4 separate regions of the Homo sapiens genome follow, and regions 1, 2 and 4 are each linked to region 3. The links are contacts of gene promoters, found by promoter capture Hi-C in blood cells and fetal thymus (Javierre and others, 2016). All regions are on one chromosome and are shown on one strand. The core of a region is centred on a gene start or on the middle of the fragment in contact, and the rest is flanking DNA. Distances in the headings are between cores, read along the strand shown.

Evidence for each region. Contacts are between HindIII fragments. The CHiCAGO score rates a contact against its expected background, and 5 or more counts as called.
Region 1: a fragment that was not itself captured here is called in contact with the fragment with the promoter of CYB561 in region 3 in 1 of 17 cell types (M1 macrophages); the score reaches 5.5 in M1 macrophages.
Region 2: a fragment that was not itself captured here is called in contact with the fragment with the promoter of CYB561 in region 3 in 1 of 17 cell types (naive B cells); the score reaches 5.2 in naive B cells.
Region 4: a contact is called between a fragment that was not itself captured here and the fragment with the promoter of CYB561 in region 3, in 1 of 17 cell types (naive B cells). The highest score is 5.2, in naive B cells.

The regions. Positions count from the first base shown.
Region 1 is chr17:63,076,303-63,079,025 of GRCh38, forward strand. The region is part of intron 3 of TANC2 (tetratricopeptide repeat, ankyrin repeat and coiled-coil containing 2); the gene reads left to right. Among named protein-coding and RNA genes, the nearest start is that of TANC2, 110 kb to the left of the region's middle. The HindIII fragment of the contact is 1,715 bases long and covers 500-2,214 here.
Region 2 is chr17:63,833,192-63,835,891 of GRCh38, forward strand. It overlaps SMARCD2 (SWI/SNF related BAF chromatin remodeling complex subunit D2), which reads right to left. Exons shown (of 13, transcript NM_001098426.2): 5 at 2,221-2,376; 6 at 1,514-1,609; 7 at 1,283-1,384; 8 at 976-1,137; 9 at 718-815; 10 at 396-531; 11 at 107-229. Among named protein-coding and RNA genes, the nearest start is that of FTSJ3, 6.9 kb to the left of the region's middle. RefSeq lists an enhancer at 1,852-2,011. The HindIII fragment of the contact is 2,098 bases long and covers 265-2,362 here.
Region 3 is chr17:63,444,944-63,447,643 of GRCh38, forward strand. It overlaps CYB561 (cytochrome b561), which reads right to left and starts at 1,363. Exons shown (of 6, transcript NM_001915.4): 1 at 1,302-1,363. RefSeq lists silencers at 1,060-1,619, 1,790-1,979 and enhancers at 1,949-2,700, 2,120-2,259. The HindIII fragment of the contact is 2,186 bases long and covers 435-2,620 here.
Region 4 is chr17:63,815,511-63,818,210 of GRCh38, forward strand. DDX42 (DEAD-box helicase 42) reads left to right here. Exons shown (of 18, transcript NM_203499.3): 16 at 53-163; 17 at 1,358-1,456; 18 at 2,184-2,700. Among named protein-coding and RNA genes, the nearest start is that of PSMC5, 11 kb to the right of the region's middle. The HindIII fragment of the contact is 2,959 bases long and covers 1-2,700 here.

The DNA.
Region 1 (2,723 bases), core at 107-2,606, 370 kb before region 3:
AAAATGGGAGAATTGGACCTTAGATATCTCTCTCCTGTTTTCTCCTACTGGGCTCCCAGAATACTGGCAGTTAGACCTTCAGATTTCAGGCAGGAGGTTGGAAAAAAAAAGTCTTTTCTGGAGAATCTGACCAAAAAAAGGAAGATAAAAGAAGAAAGAGGAAATTTAGTCATCAGAGATTCCTGAAATAAACAGGCCAGTTAGCTCACTCCATGTATCAAAGCTCCAAATCAGCTTTTCAGTCCCCTGCCCTTAAATATGAGCAGCTAACAAAGATGAGTAGATATTTGAAGAAACTCTCTAAATGTATGAAAGATAGAAGTTAAATGGAATAAAACAACTTGGAGAGACATACATTTTTGCAGAGGAAAATTATAGAACTATTATCCCCAGAAATAAGAGAAAATAACCATGAAACAAGAAAGAAGTACATAAAAGAGTGATATTATGACTTTAAAAAAGGCTCTTAGGCATTGAAATTCTGATAGTAAAAACCAAAAGCTTCGTAGAATTATCAGAGACTAATGTGCTGAAAGAAACTCTGAAAAAATAGAGCAAAAGGACAAAAATAAGAAACGAAGGAGGAGTGTTAAGAAAAATCACAGGATCAGTCCAGGAATTTCAGTATTCAAATAATAGTTGTCAAAAGAAACACCAGAGAAAATGGAAAAGAAATCATCAAGATGATTCAAGATAATTTTCTTAACTGAAGAGCATAAAGTTTCCTGATTGAAAAGGCTCACTTTGTGCTTAGTACAATGGATGAAAATAGATCCAAACTAAGGCACATTGTGGTGAAATTTGAAATCACTGGAGCCAAACAGATCGTTCATGCTTCTGGGGGGTGGGAGGGAATGAGTTGGCTTTGCACTTCTCAGTCGTAGCATTGGAAACTGAAAAATAAAGCAGCATCTTCAGTATTCTGAAGGAAAATAATTTTCAATCTCTGAATTCCATATGCATTGATACTATTATTCAAATATAAGAATAGAATTAGATGTATACATTTTCAAAAACAATCTGCCTGTCTTATACACTTTCTAAGGAATCTGTTGGAGGATGTGATCCATCAAATGAAAAAGTCAGCCAAATGAAAGAAATGAATTACAAGAGACAGGAAAGTCAATAAAGCAGAAAGATCCTTCAGAATGACAATAAAAAGAAGGGGATAGAGGGCTAGCAGTTCAGATTGGAGTGGGTTAGAAGCCTCCAGAAGAGTGGTCTTCAGGAAAATGAGATTGGTAGAAACCTGATGCAATTAATTGTCTTTAGAAAAGTTTTAGACAACTGATGAGAGTCTCAAGGTTGAAATGGTGATAAATACATAAAATAGTAAGCAAAAGAAAGTTCTGAACTACAGGGAAGATAAATAATGTGTAAGAAAGGAGATGTTAGAATAATGTCGTCAGTTCTTTAGCAGAATCCAGAGTAGTTGATGTCCAAGCCAGTCACCTCCAGTAGAAAACGTGATCAGTTTACTTAATTATGTGGTACAAATAGCTTCATTATTTATTTGATTTGGACTATTATGATAGGAAACAATGCTCTAAAGGAGGGCAAGTCTGACCTGTGACTTTGTTTTTGTATGGTTGGTGTATTTGATTTGCTAAGAATTTAAATTATTTTTGCATCTATATTCACATGGAATATTGACTTTTCATTTTCTTGTTTTCTAATGTCTTTATCTGGTTTTAATATCAGAATAATGCTGGCCTCATAGAATAAGTTGGAAGTTTCAACTTCAGTTTCCTCCTCTTCAGTTTCCTAAGCTACATCGTGTAGAATTGATATTATTTCATCCTTAACTGTTTGATACAATTTCTCAGAAGCTAATTGGGCTTGGAATTTTATTTGCTGGAAGGTTTTTAAATGTGAATTCAAGTTATTTAATAAATATAGGACTATTAAAATTATGTGTTTCTTCTTGAGAAACATTTTAATATCTGCATAATCTGTAGTGATGTAAGCATTCTCATTTCTGATACTGGTAATTTGGGTATTCTTTCTCACTGTCCTGATCATTTTGGACAAAGATTTGTCAGTTTTATACATCTCAGAGAATCAGTTTTGTATTTGGTTTCTGTATTGCTTTCCTGTCTTCTATGTCATTGATTTATACTTTGTCCTTTATTATTTTCTTTCTTCTGCCTGCTTTGGGTTTAATTTTATCTTTTTCTTGTTTCTTAAGGTAGAATCTGGGGTCATTGATATGAAAGCTTTCTCTTCTAATATAGGAATTTAGTGTTATAAATTTCTGTTTACTGCTTTAGTTAGTTACATAGATTCTGATAAGTAGTATTTTCATTTAGTTCAAAAATACCCTTTTGATTTTTTCTTTGACCCATGTGTTATTTAGAAGTATGTTGATGTAGTTTCCAAACATTTGGAAGTTTTTCAGATATCTTTCTCTTATTGATTCTTACTTAAATTTCATTGTGATCAGAGGACAAACTTTCTGTAGGTTGAATCATTTTAAATTTGTTAAGACTTGTTTTATGGCCCAGGAAATGATCTATTTTAATAACTGTTCTGTGTGCGCTTTAAAAGAAAGTGTATTATGCTGTTTTAGGGTGGAAGGTTCTATAAATGTCAACCTGATCACGTTGATTGATAGTGTTATTTAAGTCTTCTATCTTCTTGCCGATTTTCTTTCTACTTGTTGAACAGCAAGGAATATTGAAATCTCAGGCTATAACTGTGGATTTGTCTATTTCTCCTTGCAG
Region 2 (2,700 bases), core at 64-2,563, 390 kb after region 3:
GCCATAGCATAATCCCCACCCCTGGGCTAATCCACCCTGGGAACTGCTGTGGGTAAAAATCACCCAGAGCTTTACATAGGAGTCCCCTCGGGAAAGAGGACTACACCTTGAGGTCTCGGCGCTGGGAACGGAGCCATTCCTGGATGAAGTCCTGGGGGTCGGTGCTAAAACTGAGCATGAAATCTCTCTGGGTCTTCAGCTGGTTGATGGACTCAATGGTCTCATGGATCTGGAGAGGGTACCTGTGTCAGACTGTGCCCCCAAAGCTTACATGCAAGCAACTGAGCCAGAGTTCCCATCCCGTCCTCCAGGTGCTACATGTATGGAAATGCTGGACAGAGCCAGCCCACCCCAATCCTGGGCCCCAGAGGAAGCTGTGGAGCCAGAGGGCCCACCTTGACATCAAGGGAGGCGATCTCCTGCTGATTGGTGGTAGAGGCCAGAAAATTGCTCATTTGGGCCTTCAGTGGGTCGTCCACCTCCACATCGATGTCGTAACAGGCTGTCTTCTTCTGGTCGTTAGGGTCGACACTGCAGGCAGCACATGGGGAGGGAAGGCACATAGCTGACTTCATCCTGCCCACCTGGGCCAAATCTGGGGCCCATTCTCTGCACACACTCAGGGAAAAAGAAACCTGATGCTTTCTTTGGCTTTAGTTCAAGCCAAGGGTGAATCTGCTCTTAGAAGAGCCTTCCTGTCCCCCTCCTTGCATTTACCTAATGACATGGTTGATGACAATGGGGTCTGGATGCTGCAGCAACCCTGCCAGCTTCATGGGAATCTCGGAGAAACGGAGTCGGCCACAACTGAAGATCTGGAGGAAATACGAAAGGCTCAGCGTTGGCTTGTGGGCACAGTGGAGTGGACCATTCCAGGACCAGTGAGGGCAGCAGTCTGCAGGCTGTGGCCAAGGAGTAGCCCAGCAGGCAAGGCAAAGCAAGGGCTGAGAAAACGGGGGCTGGCATCTGGCTAACCTGGCGGAAGTAACGGTTGCAGTTGATGTACTCCCGCTCGTGCCCATCCTGCAGCTGGTTGTGCTTGATGTAAAGCCACAGGGCCTGCATGATGGCGGCCCTCGTCTGCGTGTGCACTCCCAGCAGCCTTGCCAATCGGGGGTCCAATTTGTACTGGGGAGGCTGGAGTTGGATGGAGGGGAGTCAGAACGGGTTCTTATAGTAGAACAGTGGGAAAATAGGGCAGGGACAGGAAGGGTTTCTAGGAACCAGCTCCCCTCCTGAGGGGTCCCTGTGGGCCCAGAAATGACCCCAGGGTCTCTGTCACCTGATGATCCAGCATGAGCAGGAGGGTGCACTTGACGTTGAGGTCTCCAGGCCGTTTTACTTGGAAGCCATCTGTCTCCTGGGTGGTGGGCATCCGGTGCCACTGGCAGGGAGGGAAGCATGGCTTATCACCAAGGGGGTGGGCGTGAACACAGGGCCTCCCAAGGGCCCTGAGGCCATTTCCCTGCCAAACCTGCACATCAGCCTGCTTTTGCCCCAGGCCCACTCTCACCTCCACCAGGTGATTGTCAGGCCCGTACAGCTCCTTGTCCAGCTCAATGACGAGGCTCTTAAAGAATGAAGAAAACTTCCTCTTCTGTTTGCTAGGCTGGGGATGGAAAGGGGTGTGAGATGGTGCTGCTGAGCTCTCAAATCTCAAGCTATGCTAAATCCCAAGAAAGAGAAGCCCCATTTCAGCCCTGGAGCTCCGGATACTGAAGATTCCTGGGCCCTGAAGGATGGAAGCAGGACTCTGGGCAGACTGGAGGCAGGGAAATGGTGCCCTCTTGCAGCCCACGAGGGACTTCCTCGAGACACTCGACTGCCATCTGCAGGAACACTGTAATAACCACACAAATCAACCTCCAACGGGCTTGGAGCAGCGCCCCCCTCCCTATGGCAGGACTTCTCTGGGAGCGCCCAAGTGTCTGGCCCAGTCTTTTTTTTTCTGAGACACAATCTCACTCTGTCACCCAGGCTGAAGTGCAGTGGTGTGATCATAACTCACTGAAGCTCGACCTCCTGGGCTCAAGCCATCCTCCTGCATCAGCCTTATGAGTAGCTGGGACTACAGGTGCATGCCACCGCACCCAGCTAATTTTTAAATTTTTTGTAGAGATGGGGTCTGGCTCTGCTGCTCAGGCTAGTATCAAACTCCTTGGTCTCAGTCTTAAACCCACACAGGCCTCCTTCCCTCCAGAACCTCCCTCCCCAACTCACATCATCCAGCAGTTTTCCTTCCACTCGGAGTTCCCAGGAAGCCACCTTGTCCCCTGCTGGGGTTCCCCCAGGGGTCCCTGCAGTTCCTGCACTATCGCCTTCCGCCTTGCTGGGACTGAACGTATTGGAAATGTAGATCCGAAGCTTTCGCTTTTGCTAAAGAGAGAAAGGCAATCACAACTGGAGGTGGACCAAGATGCTGGGACACAGTGCTACCGCATCTTCTCATATGAACCATTCAACAATCAGTACTGAGCACCATGAGCCAGCCAGGCACCTTGTCAGGTACTGGGAATCAGAAGTAGTAAGTCCCAGTCCCAGCCTTTTTTTTTTTTAGACATGGTCTCACTCTGTCACCCAGGCTGGAGTGCAGTGGCGCGATCTCAGCTCACTTGCAACCTCTGACTCCCAGGTTCAAGCGATTCTCTTGCCTCAGTCTCCCATGTAGCTGGGACTACAGGTGCGCACCACCATGCCCAG
Region 3 (2,700 bases), core at 113-2,612:
GGCGGGCAGATCACTTGAGGTTAGGAGTTCGAGACCAGCCTGGCCAACATGGTGAAACCCCGTCTCTCCTAAAAATGCAAAAATTAGCTGCGTGTTGTGGCACACACCTGTAATCCCAGCTACTAGGGAGGCTGGAACAGGAGAATCGCTTGAACCCGGAAGATGGAGGTTGCAGTGAGCTGATATTGCCCTCTGCACTCCAGCCTCCTGGCAACAGAGCAAGACTCCATCTCAAAAAAAAAAGAAGGAAGGAAAGTAAGGAAAGCAAGAAAGCAATAAAGCAAGAAAGAAAAGGAGTGGGACAAGCAGGGTGGTTCCACCTCCAGCTCTAGGAGGCTCCCTCATGCAAGGAGGTGGGGCTGCCACCGCCTCGTATTTTCCTGCCTCCATCAAATTTCACCGGGAGAAATCCAGGCACCTAGAGGAGGTGGCAAAGCTTTTTTTTTTTTTTTTTCATTAGCTATTAAACCAAAGGGGCAGAATCTAGGCGCCCTAGATGTAACTTCATTTACGGAGTCAGAAAATCCACAAAGGCTGCCAAGGTGGAATGAATGAGAGGAGGACGACCAGAAAGGAGAAGTCTGGGAAGGGGACCCCAGATCCACACGGATGATCCTCGCTCCGTGATACAGTCGGGGACAGGGCAGGGAGGGAGGGAGGGAGGGTGGCCCTGCCATCTCCCAGGTGTCAAGGTGGCGGCAGCTCCGCCCTCAGCGCAGTTGGCACCGGCCTGACCCACCACAGGGCCACCGAGGCCACCGAAGCCATGGGGCTTTCCCACTCGGGAAACTCCCACCCTCGCGCTCAGAAGCTGGGGGCGTCGGGAGACACAGGCGGGGACCTGCGGCTCCACGTTGCAGCCCGGGCCCTGCTCGGGGCAAGAGGCGGTGGCTCCGGTTTCAGATTTCAAGAGGGCAGCCGTGGCAAAGGCTGGTTGGTCCATTTGCACCCTACCTTGCTCTAGAACGCGGCGCAGGAGCAAAGATCCAAACTCGGGGTCACCAGCAAGCGGGGGTCTCGGTTCTAACTTCAGCAGAGACCCGGCACCCGGGCAGGCCAGGGCAGGGGCCGCCTGGACCGGGAGAGGCTCGGCTCCGAGAGGGCGGGCGAGCCCTGCAGCCCTCGGGCCCAGGGTGCGGGTCGGCGCCGCAGTCCAGTGCGCGGCCGCAAGGGGCAGGTGCGAGGCCGGCTGCTACTCGGGAGCCCCGCGCTGTCCCTCCCTGCGCAGTCAGGGCTCACCTGGGCCGCCCCCGCCCCGCACCCCTGCGCGCTCCGCTCCCACCCCCAGCCCGGCCTCCTACCTTGCCTACCCGAGCGTCCCTTCAGCCTCCCCGCGCCGCGCCCGGGTCGCTTGGCCGGTTCTGCGGGCCGTGGCGCGACGGCGTCGCCATGGCAACCGGGCGGCGGGCTGGGCGGTGTCTCCGGGACCGGAAGTGGCGTACGCGGCCCCCGGGGCTGCCCCGCACGTGCCAGGTCCCCGCGGTTGCGGCCACGCTCGGGACCGGGCCCTGCCAGCTCCGGGCCCGCACGTGGGCGAACCGCGGCCACCGTGAGCCCGGCCTCGCGACCTCCCTCCGGGGCCCCCATGATCGGGGGTGCGTGGGATCTGCGGCCTGCGGGGGTGGAGGGCCGGGAGCTCCCCCGGGCCTGCCTCGAGGGCCGCGGGATTCGTCCTTGCGAGCCCCGACTGCGCACGGAAGGACCTGGGGTCGGCCAGGCCTGGGGGATGGGACGGGCCCCGAGGAGAGCGGGTGCCAGGGGCGAGACCCGCCGCCCTTCCCCGGCTTGGTCCCGCGCTTCCTGATTTTCTCGCTCCACGCCTCCCATTCTGCCCTCCACCTTCTTCCCTGCCCCGCCCTCGCCCTGCCCGGGCCCAGGAGGCCACTAGATGTCAGACCCGGTTCGGGCCTTGGCCACGCCGCCGCTCCGGGAGCCCTGGGGGCACCTCCCCAGCCCCCACGGGGGAGACGATACTGCCGGGAAGGCCCGGACTAGCCCCCGCCCCCGCAGAGTAGCCTTCGGGGAACACCGATTCCACCAGGCTCTCACGAAAGCCGAGAGCTTGCCGTCCGCAGCTTCCCCTGCCCAAAGCGCAGAGAAACGAGGGCGCCGAGGCCAAGACCAAGACCGGGAGCCAGCCCCTTCGGAGCCCGGTCCAGGCCCCCGGTCCAGGAAGTGCTGTGGGTAGATAAGGGGCCCAGCTCAGACTTCCTACAAGCTGGGAAGAAAGGGTTCTTTCCTGTCTGATGCCGGGCCAGATGTAGCAAGCGCCTAGGGGTAGGAGGGAAATGGGGTTTCCTCCCCGCAGAGGGAAACCGGCCTCCATTCAGGAACGCCCTCCCCCACCTGCCCTCCAGGCACCGAGGTTCTGGGAGGCCGGGGGGCAGGGAGACCTGCTTACTTGAATGCGCTTTGTGTATTGCCTGTGTATTGCCACAGGCAGTGGGCAAGATAGGCCCTGGGGATCCAGTACTCGCTTAGTACACAGAGAGCAGTCTCCAGCGCCAGGCGAGACGCACAGGCGTGTCAGCTGCATATGGCACACGGTGGCACATGGCACACCTTCCACGAGCAGACACAAGGGGCCGACACAGCAGGGCCCACCCCCTCAGAGGGACCAAGCTTAAACCCTCCAACAACAGAAAATTTGTAGAGTATCTTTCAGTTGGAGGAAATTAATGGATAATTTAAAGTAAGAAA
Region 4 (2,700 bases), core at 5-2,504, 370 kb after region 3:
TTCTGTTCTTTTCTCCCTCCCTTGACTTAACCTTGAATTTTGTTCAATGCAGAATGCCTGGTTTCGGAAATCTCGATTCAAAGGAGGGAAAGGAAAAAAGCTGAACATTGGTGGAGGAGGCCTAGGCTACAGGGAGCGGCCTGGCCTGGGCTCTGAGAACATGGTGAGTCTAGACTACTACAGTAGTGCCTTTATAGTTGGTCTCATGTCCTGAAAGTCATTAGGAATATTCTCATCTACCCAGGAAAGCCTCAGTGAGTTTAAAGCCCTGTCTAGAAGGGAATTTGTATTTAATCTGATTTGAGTCAATGCAGTGCTCATTCTTATGGTAACTTTCTATTGAAGAAGCATCTTTGTGTACTTGGTTGACTAGGCTTGCTCAGGAAATTATTCTAGATTAGCAGTGATCTCACACTGTGGTCCCTGGACCAGCAGCACATGCAAACTCATCCCCAACCCCAGACCTTGTGAATCAGAAACTCTGGAGTTGGGGCCCAGCAGTCTGGTTTTATAAGCCCTTCAACACTGGCCTAAAGCCTGCTGCTAGGTAAATGTTGCCAAAGGGTCACTGTAAAGTCTAGCCATATCTTGTCATTAAACTCAGGAACGGATCAGGAATTTCCAAGTCGGGAGCTAGTTTTTCTCACAAACCAGGTAACAAATGTACCCTTTTGGTGGCCTTTCTTAACTGCCTGTTTTCTGTCACCTTGATTCCAAGCCAGGGAAGAAAGCTGCCAGTATACTTTTCTGGAGCATTAAACTTGGCATCTTTGTAATTACATACTCTGTTCCCACATTATAATAATAATGATGATGATGCATAATAATAGGTAATATTTATTGAGCACTTTATATGTGCCAGGACCATTCCAAGCAATCAGATGTTTTGGCTCAGTTAATCTTCAAAATAACTGAATGGAAGTTAGTACAGATAACAATGCTGAGGCACCTAAGGTTACAGTGACAAGTGTTCAAGCCGAAATTCAGACCCTTCATGGTCTTGATTCAGGGCCTGAGCAGTCACACAATATGCTATTCAGGGCCTTTTCATCTTTAACGTAATTTTTACTTAATTAATTGGAAGTGTTTATGTAAATACATGATCAACTTTGGGCATAATCTGATTGCATTTCTGTTTAATAGGGTTAATTTCCAGAAATAGAATTTCTGGGTTGAGGGCATAAGCATTTTTAAATGATTGTCACTGTGTCTTTTCTCACAAAGCAGTAGCAGCTTTCTAAAAGTATCCAGTTCCTTTGTAGCTCCCACTTCAAGGGTTTTCATAATGAGGCCTAGTCTATAGCAGTGAGCTTTCCTGCTTATTTTTTCATTCTCATAGATGTGTTTATTTTTTTAGGATCGAGGAAATAACAATGTAATGAGCAATTATGAGGCCTACAAGCCTTCCACAGGAGCTATGGGAGATCGACTAACGGCAATGAAAGCAGCTTTCCAGGTCTGAAATAAGCATTTCATTAAAAGCACTTTCAGCAGTAACTCTTGGGCAGTGACAGAGGGGCTTAGTTTTCCTGGTTGTAGCTGGGCGCCTAGGCTTGATGCTAGATTTAGGGTCTTCACGCTGCTTGGATTTTGAATATAAACCTAACAGTAGCTTAGTTGGAAATGCAAGTTGATCTAGAGAACCCCTTGTGCTGGTCTACTTTGAGTCACACTTGGGGCCTGGGATTGTTGTCCTGCAGCAGGGTGTGTGTTCCCTCCCTTCCCAACAGCCTGAAGTGTTGCCCACCTCCCAGGCACCCACCTCCAACTCACTTCTGAAGCAAAATTTACTGATAGTCACACTAAGGTGAATCGATAGAATGAGTTCAAGGCAGGTTTTGCTGTCAAACTTAAATTGCAGTATGAAAATTTTTTTTAAGTTTTCAGAACTTTTTGGTTTTGAATGCAGATAAATGTGCTAAATACATAGATGCTTTATTCTAGCCAATCAGGCTATAAAAGTACATTTCAGAACACTGGGGGTCCATCTCTCCACAGAGATCCACAAGTTTTCCTTTATAGCACAAGAACAAAAGGGACCATACTGTGGGGCCATCAGGACACTAAACTCACAGTGCCAGGATAGCACAGAGTTTCTGTAAACCTCATCATTTGCCAAGTTGTATATTCAAGTTTCTTGAACTTGCTATCTTACCTACTCCTGATGTCTCTTTCTCTTTCAGTCACAGTACAAGAGTCACTTTGTTGCAGCCAGTTTAAGTAATCAGAAGGCTGGAAGTTCTGCTGCTGGGGCAAGTGGGTGGACTAGTGCAGGGAGCTTGAATTCTGTTCCAACTAACTCAGCACAACAGGGCCATAACAGTCCTGACAGCCCCGTCACCAGTGCCGCCAAGGGCATCCCAGGCTTTGGCAATACTGGCAACATCAGTGGTGCCCCTGTGACCTACCCGTCTGCCGGAGCCCAAGGAGTCAACAACACAGCTTCAGGGAATAACAGCCGAGAAGGGACTGGGGGCAGCAACGGGAAAAGAGAGAGATATACTGAGAACCGGGGCAGCAGCCGTCACAGTCACGGAGAGACTGGCAATCGGCATAGCGATAGTCCACGTCACGGAGATGGTGGTCGCCATGGAGATGGATACCGCCATCCAGAAAGCAGCAGCCGTCATACTGATGGCCATCGGCACGGGGAGAACAGACATGGAGGAAGCGCAGGCCGGCATGGGGAGAACCGGGGTG